Linked DNA regions of Homo sapiens: region 1 is linked to region 2. The links are contacts of gene promoters, found by promoter capture Hi-C in blood cells and fetal thymus (Javierre and others, 2016). All regions are on one chromosome and are shown on one strand. The core of a region is centred on a gene start or on the middle of the fragment in contact, and the rest is flanking DNA. Distances in the headings are between cores, read along the strand shown. Region 1 overlaps OLFM2 (olfactomedin 2). Region 2 holds the start of CDKN2D (cyclin dependent kinase inhibitor 2D).

The links. Contacts are between HindIII fragments. The CHiCAGO score rates a contact against its expected background, and 5 or more counts as called.
Region 1: a fragment that was not itself captured here is called in contact with the fragment with the promoter of CDKN2D in region 2 in 1 of 17 cell types (activated CD4 T cells); the score reaches 5.8 in activated CD4 T cells.

Annotation. Positions count from the first base shown.
Region 1 is chr19:9,930,382-9,935,271 of GRCh38, forward strand. All of the region lies in intron 1 of OLFM2 (olfactomedin 2), which reads right to left. Among named protein-coding and RNA genes, the nearest start is that of OLFM2, 3.7 kb to the right of the region's middle. The HindIII fragment of the contact is 673 bases long and covers 2,008-2,680 here.
Region 2 is chr19:10,567,049-10,571,876 of GRCh38, forward strand. CDKN2D (cyclin dependent kinase inhibitor 2D) reads right to left here and starts at 1,931. Exons shown (of 2, transcript NM_001800.4): 1 at 1,465-1,931; 2 at 1-369. The coding sequence starts at 1,605. The coding sequence ends at 10. RefSeq lists enhancers at 151-658, 1,098-1,267 and a silencer at 1,548-2,197. The HindIII fragment of the contact is 9,110 bases long and covers 1-4,828 here.

The sequences.
Region 1 (4,890 bases), core at 1,094-3,593, 640 kb before region 2:
GGGGCATACCCTTAAATTTTGTACTATAGCTGAACTCTGTACCATGTACCTGTCACCCTAGCTACTCAGGAGGCTGAGGCAGAAGAATCACTTGAGCCCAGGAGTTGGAGGCTTCAGTGAGCTATGACTGCACCACTGCACTCCAGCATGGGTGACAGAACAAGACCCCGTCTTAGAAATAGGCCCGGCACCGTGGCTCACGCCTGTAATCCCAGCACTTTGGGAGGCCAAGGCGGGCAGATCATCTGAGGTCTGGAGTTCGAGACCAGAGTGGGCAACGTGGTGAAACCCTGTCTCTATTAAAAATACAAAAAAAAAAAAATTTAGCCGGCTGTGGTGCTGTGCGCCTATAATCCCAGCTACTCGAGAGGCTGAGCAGGAGAATCGCTTGAACCCGGGAGGCAGAGATTGCAGTGAGCCGAAATCGCACCACTGCACTCCAGTGTGGACGACACAGCAAGACTCTGTTTCAAATATCATCATCATCATCATCATCAACTTTTTAAAATGTTTGCACCCGCGGCGAGTATCTCACCTGTTTTACCCTGACCTGGGCACCCCCATCCCACATACGCACGCGCCCACGCACAGGTGCACAACCACACACATTCACCCACCAGTCACACAGACGCACACAGTCCCTGCACAAACCTCACTCGACCACTAGATGTCGCTCAAGCTCCATAATCTTAAATCCAGCCCCAAGGGGCTCTTTCCTACACTAACTCGGAGTCTTTAAATTTCCTTTTACTTCCCTCCACTGGGACATTTACATGCTCTAAAGGAGCCCCAGGAGAACATCGTCTTACCCCTAAACAACAGTGCCCTATCGGTGGAATGTCAGGCACAGGTAAAGAAGATGGGTTTTCTTTCTTTCTTTTTTGTGGAGACAGGGTCTCAGTCTGTCGCCCAAGCTGGAGTGCAGTAGTGCAATGATAGCTCACTGCAGCCTCAAACTCCTGGGCTCAAGTGATCTTCACACCTCAGCCTCCTGAGTAGAACTACAAGCCTGGCCAATTTTTTTTAAAGTTACTGCAGAGGCCGGGCACGGTGGCTCACGCCTGTAATCCCAGCAGTTTAGGAGGCCGAGGCAGACAAATCAAGATGTCAGGAGTTCGAGACCAGCCTGGCCAAAATGGTGAAACCCCATCTCTACTAAAAATACAAAAATTAGCTGGGTGTGGTGGCACGCCCCTGTAGTCCCAGCTACTCGGGAGGCTGAGGCACTAGAATCTCTTGAGCCCGGGAGGCAGAGGTTGCAGTGAGCTGAGATCATCACAATACTGTACTGTACTCCAGCATGGGTGACAGAACAAGACTCCATCTCAAAAATAAAAAAAAAAAAAGAAATAAAAAGAAAAAGTTATTGTAGAGATGGGATCTTGCTGTATTGCCCAGGCTGGTCTCAAATTCCTGGCCTCAAGAGACCCTCTGGCTTTGGTCTCCCAAAATGCTGGGATCATAGGTATCAGCCATCACACCTGGCCTGAAGAATGGATTTTCTTGGTGCCTTCCATCCAGGAGCGAGTGTTCCCCTGACACTCTCTTGATAAAAGAATCCTGTGGTTTGAGAAAGAAAGACACTCTGTGTGTGTGAGGGGGTCCATCCATCCATCCATTCATCCATTCAGCAGATATTTCTTGAGCACCTACTGTGTGTCAGGCTCTGCTCTAGACACTGGAGAAACAACAAAGCTAGCTGAACCCTGATAAACTGCCGCTCTAGTGGGGAAACAGAGAATGAATGAATAGAAGAATCATAGAAATGTGGAAACGAGGGCTATAAAGAAAAATATGGCCGGGCGTGGTGGCTCATGCCTATAATCCCAGCACTTTGGGCGGCAGATCACCTGAGGTCAGGAGTTCAAGACCAGCCTGGCCAACATGGTGAAACCCTGTCTCTACTAAAAATACAACAAAAACTAGCTGGGCATCAGGTGGCACGTGCCTGTAGTCCCAGCTACTCGGGAGGCTGAGGCACGAGAATCACTTGAACCGGTGAGGCAAAGCTTGCAGTGAGCCGAGATTGCGCCACTGCACTCCAGCCCAGGCAACAGAGTGAGACTCAGTCTCAAAAAAAAAAAAAAAAAGAAAGAAAGAGAGAGAAAGAAAAAGAACACGGAGTAAGCACTCAGAGAGTGGCAGCAGGGGGCTATTTCACTTAGCTGTTCAGGGTGAGCCTCTTGGAGGAGGTGACATTTAAGCAGAAATCAGAGATAAATAGCTACCAGGGGGAACAGTGTCACAGGCAGAGGGAACAGCAAGTGTGAAGTCCCTGAGGCACGTGATCTAAACTGAATTATTCCTTCTCCCCATCCTCTGAAAGCCCCAGGAAAGAGTTGGTCCCAAACCCAGATAGTGCCAACGATGTAGCTAGATCTTAGGGAGGCCTTCGCAGGGATCAGGAAGGCATCTTTTCCACAAGGAAAATAGTGGGGCTCAGAACTGTCAAGCTCTCTGGTAGTCACTCCCAGGCCAGAACCCAGAACATCTTGGATAGATCCTGGATGAATGGACAATGCCTCTGACAGGCCCTGCTTTCCTGTTCTCCTGCTCTCTGGGTCAAATCCAAACTTCTGCCCACAGCTTACAAGTTCCTAAGTGGTCTGGCTTCCCCGGCCTCATCTCCCCGCGACCTCTCCAGCCACACCAGCGTCCACACTGCTTCTGAAACTCACCAAGCTTGTTCTTACCCCAGGGCCTTTGCACCTTCTGTTCCTCCCACCTTCAATGCTCTTCCCCCAGACACCCACAAGGCTCCCTCTCTCACCTCCTTCAGATGTCACCTGAAACACTACTTCCTTAGAGACACCTTCCCTGACCACACTGGCTCAAATAGCCCCCACCTTGTAATCTTTTTCTGTTTTTTTGCTTTGAGACAGTCTTGTTCTGTTGCCTAGGCTGGAGTGCAGTGGCATGACCTTGGCTCACTGGAACCTCTGCCTCCCAGGTTCAAGCAATTCGCCTGCCTCAGCCTCCTGAATAGCTGGGACTACAGGTGTGCAACACCACACCTGGCTAATTTTTTGCATTTTTAGTAGAGACGGGGTTTCACCATGTTGGCCGGGCTGGTCTCAAACTCCTGACCTCAAGTGATCCACTCACCCTGGCCTCCCAAAGTGCTGGGATTACAGGCGTGAGCCTCCATGCCCGACTGCTATCACTCTAATCTTTTTTTTTTTTTTTTTTTTTTGAGACAGAGTTTCACTCTTGTTGTCCAGGCTGGAGTGCAATGGCGATCGCAGCTCACCGCAACCTCTGCCTCCCAGGTTCAAGCAATTCTCCTGCCTCAGCCTCCCTAGTAGCTGGGATTACAGGCGCCTGCCACCACACCCAGCTAATTTTTTGTATTTTTAGTAGAGACAGGGTTTCACTATGTTGGCCAGGCTGGTCTCGAACTCCTGACCTCAGGCGATCCACTTGCCTCAACTTCCCAAAATGCTGGGATTACAGGCGTGAGCCACAGCACCCGGCTCCAGTCTAATCTTCTATACTTTATCTGTTATTCTTCATGCTACTTGCATTGTATTATATGTATATTTAGTTGCCGACACCGTATTACATGGTTATTCGGCTCTTTTCTGTCTCCTCTGCTAGGTCAACTCCAGGAGAGCAGGGATTTGATGACTCAGTTGGTGGCTGTATCCCCAGTGCATAATCATATCTGTTCATTGAATGGATTAACCAATGATTTCTAGGAAGGACCCCTGGGCCCATCAGGGACAGGGAAGAAGTCTTTGGAAAGTGATGGAGGGAGCGAAGAGTGGGTAGAGCATCCTCTCTGCAGACCCCTCCCTTCCCTGGGGTGCCAGGCTTGGTGGGCCAACGCCAAGGGGGTGTATGGGGCGCCGAGACTGTTTCACAACCATGTAGTTCCCGCGGTGGCCGCCTGGAGGCACTGCAGCCCGCGGCAGGATTCCACCAGCCCCGCCCTAACGGATTACCTCATTTGGCCACGCCCCCGTTGTCCTTTAGCCCCGCCTCCACTGACCTCGTTAGTCCCGCCCCCAAAGCAACTCCCTCCCAGCCCTGGGGGCTGTAGGAGTCACCCTCCAATTGCAATTCTGGCAGCAAACTCTGGCATCCTAGCCAATCTTGGTGAGAAGCCAGAAAATCTAGTGCCCCCCTAGCAGGGAGTGGAGGAGAAGCCACAGGGGGTGGTTCTCTGTCTCCTCTGCTAGGTCAAGGATAATTCAACTTGATTCCTGGCTCATTTTTTTTCCACTGGTTTCTCAAGTGTGTGCCTCTTTTGGTCTCTCGTCTCCCAGGTGTGTCTCTTGGCTTCTCTCAGGCTCACACATCCATTGAGTACCTATTGTGTGTGTCCTCATGCCTGGGGCTGGGCACACTCCCTATCCCACCCAGCGCGTGGGTGCTGAGATGCGTGGGGAAATGGAGGAGCGAGGGAGGGGACCCCACAATCTCTCCTCGTGGCCTGGAAATCCTTCTATCTGGAGTCTAACCTCCATTCCTCCCAACACCCCCCTCGGGGTGAGCACAAGGGTCTGATTCTTTTCTTGATAAGGGGAAGGTGCCCAAATTGTTTCTCCCCTGCCTATCTACCTAAAAGCCCACCTAGCAATGTCTTCACGGACGCTGTCCACACCCATGGAGCGGATTATTTAACAAGAGGGTAATCGTGTGGGCTCAGGAGCCGGACTGCCTCGGTTCAGTCCCACCTCTGTCACTCTCGAGCTTGAGCAAGTGATTTAACTTTTCTGCGCCTCAGTTTCCCCATCCATAAAATGAGGTAACAATACCATGCTCTAGTAGGGAGGAGGCAGAGGGGGTTAAATGCCTTAGTCTGTGCTGTGTGATTGAAACAGCACCTCTCAAATTAGCACGTAATGAATGATCACTGTTATCATAATGACTATTTTATTATTTTTG
Region 2 (4,828 bases), core at 681-3,180:
GACCCCAGATCACAGCGGGGCCACCATGTGGCCCTGCAGGATGTCCACGAGGTCCTGAGCCCCTCTCTGCAGTGCCAGCTCCAAGGGTGTGAGACCCCTGGCGTCCCTGCGATGGAGATCAGATTCAGCTGCCAGAAAGCTGACCACAGCAGTGTGACCCTCTTGAACTGCCAGATGGATTGGAAGTGCCCCGGTGCCATCAGGCACGTTGACATCAGCCCCGTGCTCCACTAGGACCTTCAGGGTGTCCAGGAATCCAGTGCGGGCTGCGTCATGGACTGGACTGGTACCGGAGGTGTCCTGGACATTGGGGCTGGCACCTTGCTTCAGCAGCTCCAGGGCGATGGCGGTGCTGCCAAACATCATGACCTGTGTGAGGGACAGAGGATCAGGAGGTCCTCAAGGGAGGAGGTTCCACAAAAGGGGTCACTGGAAAGAGAAGGGTCATCCAGAAAGAGGCATCTCCCAGAAACAGGAAATGCTAGAGGAGGGGTCCTCTAGTGAACGGAGAAGCTGCATAAGCCCCCAGGAAAGTTCTTCTGGGAATAGGGACCCCCCCCAAAAGCTGGTCACTCCCTTAAGAATGAGACCCCCCAACCCAGAGAACAGCCCCCCATGGAAACTTTCAAGGAACCTAAGACTCTCCCCCAAGGGACCAAAGACGCCCCCAGATATGGGCAATCACCAGGAAACAGAAAATCCCCTCCAGGAAATGGGCCCCCAGAGATGGAGAACTACCCCCAAAGAATTGATAGTCCTCATAAGGGAAAAAAGATGTCAAAGGAAAGCGAACCCCTTCTCCAGGAAATAGCCTCCTCCTACATAATGGTGATGTCACCTCAGAGTACCTGAGAGCTCCTTTCAAGAAGCGGGATTCCAAAAGTAATAATAAAAGAGAAACGAGACTTCCCTGTAAAATGTCTCCCAGGGAATATAGGGATGTCTTGCAATCTGACATTGTTCCTCCATTGGGGCCCCCATACTATATCAAGGATCCGCATAACCTTTAGGAATGAAGACCCCACCCCCAAGTAACCAGATTTGTCTCAGAGAGCCCCCTACAAAATGAGGAACCCCTAGAGACAGGACCTCTCCTTCCAGAGATCGGATCTCCCCATAGAAGCCCCAAGAAACGTGAGCCGTCCCCATGGAAACGGCATCCAAAGGAGCTGAACCCGCACCCACGGAATAAGAACCTCCCCAGGGAAAGTGAATCCCCGGCACTCAGAGAACCAGGAATCCTCCCAGAGAAGATGCTAAAAAGCTCTCCCCTCCCCCCACAACCTAGCCTCACCCACCACCCACCTTCGAAGGGGGACTGTGGGGGAACAATGAAAGCCTAGAGAAGAAGGACCGGTTCCCAGTGGGTCACCACCAGGGCCAGGAGACCAGAGAGGAGCTCTGGGGTCTCGATCCTCATCCCGCTTAGCCGCCCCGCCCCAACCTGGACCGGCCCGGCCTCACCTGCAGCGCCGTCTTGCCGAAGCGGTTGAGGGCGTCGGGATGCACCAGCTCCCGGTGCAGAAGGCGGCGCACCTCCTGCACGTCGCCCCGGGCCGCCGCCCCACTCAGCCGGTCGCCGGCGCGAACCTCCTCCAGCAGCATGTCGACACTGGCGGCCTGCAAAGCCCCCCGCCCCGCCCCAGCCCGGCGCTGTCAGCGCGGAGCAGCCGGCGGGCGCTGGCCCGAACAGCCCTCCCGGGGCGCGGCCGCGGTGCACCCGGCTGCGCTGCTCTCCCGTCCCGGCTCCCCAGCCCGAGACCCCGGCCCTCCCGGCGGGCTCCTCCCCCTGTCAGCCGGAGGACGGCGAGGGGCTGGGAGCCGGGCCCAACCCTCGGCCGCCCGCGGGGCCCTGCCCGGCGCCCGCCCCTTGGGGGCCGGGTCTCCCCCTAACTCACCCTCCCTCCTCCTCGCCGGGCGGGGTCTGCTCTGAGCCTGCGCCGCCGCCGCCGCTGAGGCAGCCGCCAGGGGGCGGAGCCAACGTGCTCCCGGCCACGCCCCGAACGCAACTGATTTGTTTTCTTACAAACTCGCTACTGTGTAGCGGCACCGCGTTGCCCGGCGCGCGACCTTACGGCGTTCCGCCCACAGGGCCTGCATAACCAGTGGCTGCGCGTCGCCGGGGAAACTTCGGGCTCGGCGTGAAACGCGTCGCTCCTGATTGGTCAGAGTGTGGCAACCGGTGGACCGCCGGCAATGGCGGGGTTTTCGGTTTTCAAATGAACCCGGCAGGCGGGAAAGAAGGCTGGTTTAACTGACCCAGGGAGAAAGGTCAGGGGCAGGGTCGCGCGGGCTGCTCTGGGACCTCGGCGCCTCCTGAGGGAAGGGAGGCAGGGCTGGAGCCACCCAATCCGAGGTTCCACTACTAATAGACATTCATTGGCCCTTACTACGAGCTGGGCGCTTTATTTCATTCATTTATTCATTCACTGTGTGCAGGGAGCGTCCTGGGAGCTGGACGCGCACATTCAAACAACCAAATAATATTAGATAGTGTCAAGCACCGTGAAGAAAGGGAAACGGAGAGACGGAGTGGATGAGGAAGGGATCACCCTGCCGGGCTCAGACTGAGCCAGCAGGAAAGGAGCCTGCAGCTGCCACGTGGGAAGGCCTGAGAGGACATAGTCGCAGCCAGACAGGGACTCAGAGGTCTTCGTTCAAATATTTACTTAGCACCTCCTAGAGGGGCCCGAGTGGAGAGCACGCCAGTCGGCCCCTGCTGCAGGGACACCTATGGTCTGGGGCCAGAGACAATAGTTAATTTTTATTTATATATGTATTTATTTTTGAGTCAGGGTCTCACTCCTGTCACCCGGGCCGGCGTGCAGTGGCGCGATCACAGCTCACTGCAGCCTCGACTTCCCGGGCTCAAGTGATCCTCCTGCCTCAGCCTCCCGAGTAGCTGGGACTACAGGGCGCACCACCACGCCCGGCTAATTTGTGTTTTTAGTAGATATGAGGTTTCACTATGTTGCCCAGGCTGGTGTTTTTTGTTTGTTATTTGTGTTTGGCTTTTAAATACAGATTTTTTTTTTTATGTTGGGGTTCTTGCTTTGTTGCCCAGGCTGGTCCCGAATTCCTGGGCTCAACGGATCCTTCTGCCTTGGCCTCCAAAAGTGCTGGGATTACAGGCGTGAGCTCCTGCTCTCCGCCAATAGTTAAATCTTTTTAGAGTGGTAGAGGACTGACCAGATGAGCCATTGAAACGGAAAGGCAAAAAGCCGGGCGCGGTGGCTCACACCTGTAATCCCAGCACTCTGGGAGGCTGAGGTGGGCGGATCACGAGGTCAGGAGTTCAAGACCAGCCTGACCAACATGGTGAAACCCCGTCTCTACCAAAAATATAAAAAATTAGCCGGGCGAGGTGGCGGGCGCCTGTAGTCCCAGCTACTCGGGAGGCTGAGGCAGGAGAATGGCGTGAACCCCAGGGGGCGGAGCCTGCAGTGAGCCGAGATTGCGCCACTGCACTCCAGCCTGGGCGACAGCGAGACTCCGTCTCAAAAAAAAAAAAAAAAAAAAAAAAATTAGCTGCGCCTGGTGGCACGCACCTGTAATCCCAGCTACTCAGGAGGCTGAGACAGGAGAATCGCTTGAACCCAGGAGGCGGAGGTCGCAGGAGCCGAGATCGCGCCATTGTACTCCAGCCTGGGCAACAGAGTGAGACTCTGTCTCAAAAAAAAAAAAAAAAGAAAAGAAAAGAAAAGAAAAAGAAACGCAAAGGCAGGGAGGGCCTCCCTGAAGAGGTGACATTTGATTTGAGACCTAAAGGTGAGGGAGGGAGACTTGTGGTTATATGGGGAAAAGCACACCAGCTGGGAGGCACAGCAGATGCTAAGGCCCAGAGGTGAGAGCGTGCCTGGTGTGGTACAGAGCAGGGGAGAGCAGGTAGGTGGGGTATCAGGATGGCAATTGTGCAAATCAAGCCATGGCTTTTTTATTTATTTATTTATTTTAATTTTTTTTTAATTTTTTTTTTGAGACGGAGTCTCACTCGCCCAGGCCAGAGTGCAGTGGCGCTATCGCGGCTCACTGCAAGCCCCGCCTCCCGGGTTCACGCCATTCTCCTGCCTCAGCCTCCCGAGTAGCTGGGACTACAGGCGCCCGCCACCGTGCCCGGCCTTTTTTTTTTTTTTTTTTTTTTTTTGAGACAGAGTCTTGCTCTGTCGCCCACGCCCGACCAGGCCATGGCTTTAATAAGATAGGAATGCCGAGCGAAGTGGCTCACACCTGTAATTCCAACATTTTGGGAAGCTGAGGCGGGTGGATCACCTGAGGTGGGGAGTTCGAGACCAGACTAGCCAACATGGTGAAATCCCATCTCTATTAAAAAATACAGGCCGGGCGCAGTGGCTCACGCCTGTAATCCCAGCATTTTGGGAGGCCGTGGCGGGCGGATCACGAGGTCAGGAGATTGAGACCATCCTGGCTAATACGGTGAAACACCGTCTCTACTAAAAATACAAAAAATTAGCCAGGCGTGGTGGCGGGCGCCTGTAGTCCCAGCTACTTGGGAGGCTGAGGCAGGAGAATGGTATGAACCCGGGAGGCGGAGCTTGCAGTGAGCCGAGATCACGCCACTGCACTCCAGCCTGGGCGACAGAGCAAGACTCTTGTCTCAAAAAAAAAAAAAAATTAAGCCAGGCGCGGTGGCTCACGCCGGTAATCCTAGCACTTTGGGAGGCCAAGGCGGGCGGATAATGAGGTCAGGAGTTTGAGACCAGCCTGACCAACATGGTGAAACCCCGTCTCTACTAAAAATAACAATAATTAGTGGGGCATGGTGGCGCACGCCTGTAATCCCAGCTACTCAGCAGGCTGAGGCAGGAGA